Regions from separate parts of the Homo sapiens genome. Here region 1 is linked to region 2. Evidence: promoter capture Hi-C in human tissues and cell types (Jung and others, 2019). All regions are on one chromosome and are shown on one strand. Each heading gives the region's core, a stretch centred on a gene start or on the middle of the fragment in contact. The rest is flanking DNA. Distances are from core to core; before and after follow the strand shown. Region 1 has its middle 12 kb from the start of ZNF20. Region 2 holds the start of ZNF799 (zinc finger protein 799).

Region 1 (3,374 bases), core at 78-2,577, 270 kb after region 2:
CTGGCCTCGTGATCCGCCCACCTCGGCCTCCCAAAGTGCTGGGATTATAAGTGTGAGCCACCACGCCTGGCCCAAAAATTCTTATTTTGACTATTCATGTCTTATTTTTGCACTTTTTCACAAAGCAAGGTCAAAAAGCAAAGGAAAAATCCTTTAAGATCAATGTACTTAGGTTGAAAATGTGTTTTTTCTCAGGAAAAACTTGTAATTTATATAATTACAATCCTCAGTTTATTTGCAGCATCACCAAATTTTCTTACATATTTCAAATGTGAACTTAAGATATATATTTTTCTCATTATTTACATTTTGCTTCCTACCTATGGCTTTTTTTTTTTTTTTTTTGAGACAGAGTGTCGCTCTGTTGCCTAGGCTGAATTGCAGTGGCACGATCTCAGCTCACTGCAACCTCTGCTTCCCAGGTTCAAGCAAGTCTCGTCACAACCTCCCAAGTAGCTGGCACTACAGGCGAACACCACCATGCCCAGTTAATTTTTGTGTTTTTTGTAGAATTGGAGTTTCACCATGTTGGCCAGACTGGTCTCTAAACTCCTGGCCTCAAGCGATCCATCTGCCTCGGCCTCCCAAAGTGCTGGGATTATAGGCATGAGCCAACATGCCTGGCTCCTCTAGACCTTTTAAATCTTTTACTCATGATATTGGTCAGCCCACGGTCAAAATAATTCATAAAAGGTATATACAAAAATTCAACACCACAATGAAAGTTAAATTCATTTGTTTAGAACCACTCAAGCAACTCAGGTGTACACAGATAGACCTGTGGCAACTGGTGAACAATTAAATGGCACAGAAGTGGCTGGGTGCAGTGGCTCATGCCTGTAATCCCGGCACTTTGGGAGGCCGAGGCGGGCGGATCATGAAGTCAGGAGATTGAGACCATTCTGGCCAACATGGTGAAACCTGTCTCTACTAAAATACAAAAAATTAGCCGGGCGTGGTGGCGGGCTCCTATAGTCCCAGCTACTCAGGAGGCTGAGGCAGAGGAATCCCTTGAACCCGGGAGGCAGAGACTGCAGTGAGCTGAGATCGTGCCACTGCACTTCAGCCTGGCAAAAGAGCAAGACTCTGTCTCAAAATAAATAAATGGCACGGAAGTTGCAATAATGACCTCTGCTGTGCAGTACTCTCTTGGCAGAGATACACAAGAACTCCAATAAGGCCCTCATATGATATGCAGAACTGCCTCAAACATCATGTGACCATAGAACTTTGCCAAGGACAGTCTTTTTGTACATCTCTGCACCTGGCTTACCCAAAGATTGGACTGGGCGCATTTCTCAAGCCATTGTCTACTGAACGTTCTTTGTAGCGTGTGGGGCAATGACGATTGCCTAGGTGTAATTTCCTAATCGCTGGGGTAGGTCTGGTTTCTGAGGGCCCAGCAGAGGAACTCAGTTCACAAAAATGGCTTCCTGTAGTTTCTGCTTGATACTTCCTATTCTGCCATCTTCCCAGAATCCTCTTTCCTGACTTCATATACTAACACGTCATTTCAGATCTCACTACAGATGTCACCACCTCAAGACACTGTCTTCTTTTCCGCCCCCCTTACCCCAACTTGAAACTCAAGGTCACACTCTCTCACCCATTACTCCTATTTCATTTAGTGTGTAGAATTTTTTCAACACACTTGTCAGAATCTGGAACATAACGTTCACAGGGTTGATTGCTCTCTGTTTAACAAGGTAAAAAGTTAAGTCATGTAGGCTGGGTGCGGTGGCTCACGCCTGTTATCCCAGCACTTTGGGAGGCCAAGGTAGACAGATCACGAGGTCAGGAGATCGAGACCATCCTGGCTAACATGGTGAAACCCTGTCTCTACTAAAAATACAAAAAATTAGCCGGGCGTGGTGGCGGGCGCCCGTAGTCCCAGCTACTCAGGAGGCTGAGGCAGGAGAATGGCATGAACCTGGGAGGCAGAGCTTGCATTGAGCCAAGATTGTGCCACTGCACTCCAGCCTGGGTGACAGAGCAAGACGCTGTCTCAAAAAAAAAAAAAAAAAAGTCATGTAAATTTAAGTGTCACCTTTCTTTTCTTTTCTTTTTTTTTTTGAACCTTTTCACCAACTGTTACACACTTTTTTTTTTTTTGAGACAGAGTCTCGCTCTGTCGCCAGGCTTGAGTGCAGTGGTGCGATCTCAGCTCACTGCAACCTTCACCTGCTGGGTTCAAGCAATTCTCCTGCCTCAGCCTCCCGAGTAGCTGGGATTACAGGCACGCACTACCACACCTGGTTAATTTTTGTATTTGTATTTGTATTACAGATGTGAGCCACCGCGCCTGGCTTACACCCTATATTAAAAAGTATTTCAGGGGCCAGGCACGGCGGCTTATGCCTATAATCCCAGCACTTTGGGAGGCCAAGGCGGGCGGATCACTTGAGGTCAGGAGTTCTAGACCAGCCTGGCCAACATAGTGAAACCCTGTCTCTACTAAAAGTACAAAAATTAGCCGGCTGGGGTGGTGGCCACCTGTAATCCCAGCTACTCGGGAGGCTGAAGCAGGAGAATCACTTGAACCTGGGAGGCAGAGGTTGCAGTGAGCTGAGACTGCAACACTGCACTCCAGCCTGGGCAACAGAGCAAGACCTTGTCTCTAAAATAACATAACATAACATAACATAACATAACATAACATAACATAACATAACATAACAACATAACATAACATAAATACAGTAGAGTAGAGTAGAGTAGAATTTCCAACAAAGTCCTTTGAACCATTTTCCAGAAAGGCAACGTCAATGAAGCTCCCTCTTGTGGTAAGGGCGGCATTAACATCCACACACTGTTGTGACTGGATTTCTCAAAATTGCACAGGGATCTAAGAGTGGAAAAACTCAAAATGTTTTTCCTGTGCATTCACACAATGCAATATCTCTATGACCAAATATGTGGAAGATTTTCTCACACAGCAAACAAGCCATCCATTCTCCACTGAACACCACCTGAGTGTCCTCTAATTCACGTGTCCCCAACTCTCGGGTACAGACGGGTACCTGTCCATGGCCTGTTAGGAACTAGGCCACACAGCGGGAGGTAAGCAGAAGCGAGTGAGCGTTACTGCCTAAGCTCTGCCTCCTGTCAGAGCAGCAGTGGTATTAGATTTTCTTGGGTTGATAACCCTATTGTGAACTGCACATGTGAGAGATCTAGGTTGCATGCTCCTTATGAGAAACTAATCCCTGATGAGCTGAGGTGAAACAGTTTCATCCAAAAACCATCTCCCCACCCTCCTCTGTGAAAAACTTTTCTCCCACGAAACTGGTCCCTGGTGCCAAAAAGGTTGGGGACTGCTGCTCTAATGCATTTCCCACATTACCTACCCTCATAAAAGTACAAAACTGTCTCAG
Region 2 (3,501 bases), core at 608-3,107:
GAACAGACCAATAACAAATAATGAGATCAAAGCCATAATAAAAAGTCTGCTAGCAAAGAAAACCCCAGAACCCAGTGGCTTCACTGCTGAATTCTACTAACATTTAAAAAAGAACTAATACCAATCCTACTCAAACTATTCCAAAACAGAGGAGAAGGCAATACTTCCAAACTTATTTTACAAAGCCAATATTACTTTGACACCAAAACCAGACAAAGACATGTCAGAAAAAGAAAACTATAGGCCAGTGTCACTGATGAATATTGATGCAAAAATCCTCAACTCAATACTAGCAAACTGAATTTAACAATACACCAAAAAGATCATTCATCATGACCAAGTGGGCTTTATCCCTGGGATGCAAGGATGGTTCAATATATGCAAATCAATCAATGTGATGTATCATTTCAACAGAATAAAGGGCAAACACCATATAATCATTTCAATGTGCACTGAAAAAGCTTTTGATAATATTTAACATCCCTTCATGATAAAAACCCTAAAAAAAAACTGGGTATAGAAGCAGCTACCTTAACATAATAAAAGCCATATATGGCAGACCCACAGCTAGCATGATAATGAATGAGGAAAAACTGAAAGCCTTTCCTGTAAGATCTGGAACACAATAAGAATGCCCACTTTTACCACTGTTGTTCAGCACAGTACTCGAAGTCCCAGCTAGAGCAATAAGTCCAAAAAAAAAAAAAAAAAGAAATAAAGGGCATCTATATTGGGAAGGAAAGGAAGAAGTCAAATTATCCTGGTTTGCATATAATATGATCTTATATCTGGAAATACCTAAAGACTCCACCAAAAAAGTATTAGAACTGAGAAATAAATTCAGTAAAGTTGCAGGATACAATATTAACATACAAAAATCAGTAACATTTTTATATGCCAACAGTGAACAATCTGAAGCTACTTGAGAGGCTGAGGTGGGAGGATTGCTTGAGCTTGGGAGGTAGAGGTTGCAGTGAGCCATGATGGCCCCACTGCACTCCAGCCTAGGCAACAGAGCAAGACCCCATCTCAAACAACCAAAAACGTGTAGAAGGATGGTTACCACAGGCTGGGAAAAGTAGTAGCGAGGAGTAGTTATGGGGGAAGTGGGGATGGTTAATAGGTATAAAAAATAGTTACAAAGAATGAATAAGACCTAGTATTTGCTAGCACAACAGAGTGACTATAGTAAAAAATAATTTAATTGTACATTGAAATATTTTGAAAAATTTCATTGAAAAAGAGTATAATTGGAGCCAGGCGCGATGGCTCACGTCTCTAATCCCAGAACTTTGGGAGGCCAAGGTGGGCGGATCACGAGGTCAGGAGTTCGAGACCAGCCTGGCCAACATGGTGAAACCCGGCCTCTACTAAAACATACAAAAATTAGCCGGGTGTGGTGGCGCGCACCTGTAATCCCAGCTACTCGGGAGGCTGAGGCAGAATTGTTTGAACCCACCTAGGAGGCGGAGGTCGCAGTGAGCCTCGCACCATTGCACTCTAGCCTGAGCCACGGAGCAAGACTCCCTCTCTCTCTCTCTCTCTCTCTCTCTCTCTCGGAAAAAAAAAAAAAAAAAAAAAAAAAAGTATAATTGTTTTGTCAGTCAGTGTACAGGAGGAAGAAGCAGGAGGTCCTATTGAGTACAGGCAGGAAATTCCGCTTAAGTGCAAATATCCCTCGGGAGGATTCAGATCAAAGAGCAGGGAGGAAGCCCGCCCTGCCAAGGGCTGTGTCAGGAACTTGCTCATCTGGCTCCACTCAGCTGTGCAAGATCGCTTCTTCTGTCAATCAGTCCACGAGGGGCGGCACCTGACGCCGTATCCAGTAAGGGCCGTGGGGCGGGTTCGTGGGAACTGTCAATCAGGCGCGCTTCCCAGAGGAGTGTGTGGTTGAAAAAGCCCGCGGCGTCTTCTCCACCCACCTGCGCTGGGCGCTCGGTGCTCGGCTCTGTAGCTAAGAGACGACCTGGAAGTTCCGTGGCAGCCTGTGTCCCGCGGGAACCCGCATTGGCAGCGGGAGCCGTCCGGAGGACCTGGGACACCGCGGAAGTCGGGAAATGGTGCGTGTGCTGGGCCGGCGTCCCGAGGCGGGGGAGGGGCTGGGTGGAACCTGCAGTAATCGGCTGTGGCTGGACCCGGGCCTCCCCAAGGGCTACTCCGGGATCTACGGACCCGGGTTCCCCTGGCGTAGGTCGGCCCTCGGCCGCAGGGTGGGGCTGGGCATGCAGCCGGGACCCCGGGCGTCCTGTCCCGTTCCTGCGCGGCGACTGCGGCCCCGGCGCCCTCTCTGGGCAGCTCCGCGCCCGCAGCCTCGCGTCTCCCGAGATTGTGCGGCTGTAAGCAACACAGGTTCGCGGCCCGACTCACTGCACCGAGACGCTGAGGGCTGCAGCAGAAACAGTTTAATAGCCAGAGAGGGGAGGACACCCCAGATCCGCCTCCCTGAGGGATTTGGGGTCTGGACGGGGGCGGCTGGGTGTAGGGTCGTTGGTTGGTGGGGAAGTGAGGGGTGAATCCTGGGACAGGAGGTGAAGAAACCGCATTCTGCTGAATGGGCTCCCTCGTTGGGACTTCAACCTGATTGGCGCCAGCCTTTGCTGGGATTCAGGATCTGAGAACTCCGGCGACTCTTGAGCAGTTCTCAGAGATCTTATCCCCAGGCACAATGGGGAAGCCGGCGGTCAGCGTCTGCTGTGACCTGACTCTCAGGGAGGCGGCCCCTTGAGGCAGCGGGGCTGAGGGCACCTGGTTAATATCTAACTGCAATCTCGCCTCCAGCCTGGCTCGCAGTTCCTGTGAACCCGGTGAGGAGGCTGCACGGTGACGACGAGTCACCAGGTGGAATCCAGACTCGTGTGTGGGGTTTGTGTGTGGGAGGAGCTGTGGTCTCCGTGGTCCTCAGTCCCTTCTTTCTTTCCAAGGGCGACCGTTTCCCCTCTGAGTCTTCCAAAGATGTGGTTAGCAGGGTCTCAAATCCACCACTGTGTTCTCTCATCCTGACTCCTCCTAGGGCTGGCAGCAAATCTCTTGGTTTCCAGAGACTTCCCCAGGCTAACCTTCTGTCCTTAATTCACAGCAACGGTATGAACTGTTTGGCCCCCAGGCGATATTTCACTAGTTTGTCATCTTGTTTTCAGCTAGCAATGTATGGCTTTTTCTTGAAAGAATTATTTTGGGTTCCTGAACACGGTGGGTCATTCCTGTAATTCCAGCACCTTGGGAGGCTAAGGCAGAGGTATTGCTTAATCTTAGTAGTTCCAGACCAGCCTGGGCAACATGGCAAGACCTTGTCTCTAGTATAAATGATAATAATAAAATTAGCTGGGCTTGGTAGCTGGCACCTGTAGTCGCAGCTACTCCTGAGGCTGAGGTGGGATGATGGCTGGAGCCCAGGAGTTTGAAGTTGCAGTGAGCTATGATCGTGCCTCTGCATCCCAGCCTAGGCAACAGAGGCCGACCCTGTCTCAAAAAAAAAAAAAAAAAAGGGTGTCCACAGCTGCC

The links. Contacts are between HindIII fragments. The study calls those that stand out against the background at their distance.
Region 1: a fragment that was not itself captured here is called in contact with the fragment with the promoter of ZNF799 in region 2 in 5 of the 25 tissues and cell types used here (bladder, heart left ventricle, liver and 2 more).

The regions. Positions count from the first base shown.
Region 1 is chr19:12,126,317-12,129,690 of GRCh38, reverse strand. No RefSeq gene overlaps it. Among named protein-coding and RNA genes, the nearest start is that of ZNF20, 12 kb to the left of the region's middle. The HindIII fragment of the contact is 9,523 bases long and covers 1-3,374 here.
Region 2 is chr19:12,399,627-12,403,127 of GRCh38, reverse strand. ZNF799 (zinc finger protein 799) reads left to right here and starts at 1,857. Exons shown (of 4, transcript NM_001080821.3): 1 at 1,857-2,060. The coding sequence starts at 2,058. RefSeq lists enhancers at 1,703-1,752, 2,473-2,562 and a silencer at 2,083-2,242. The HindIII fragment of the contact is 18,323 bases long and covers 1-3,501 here.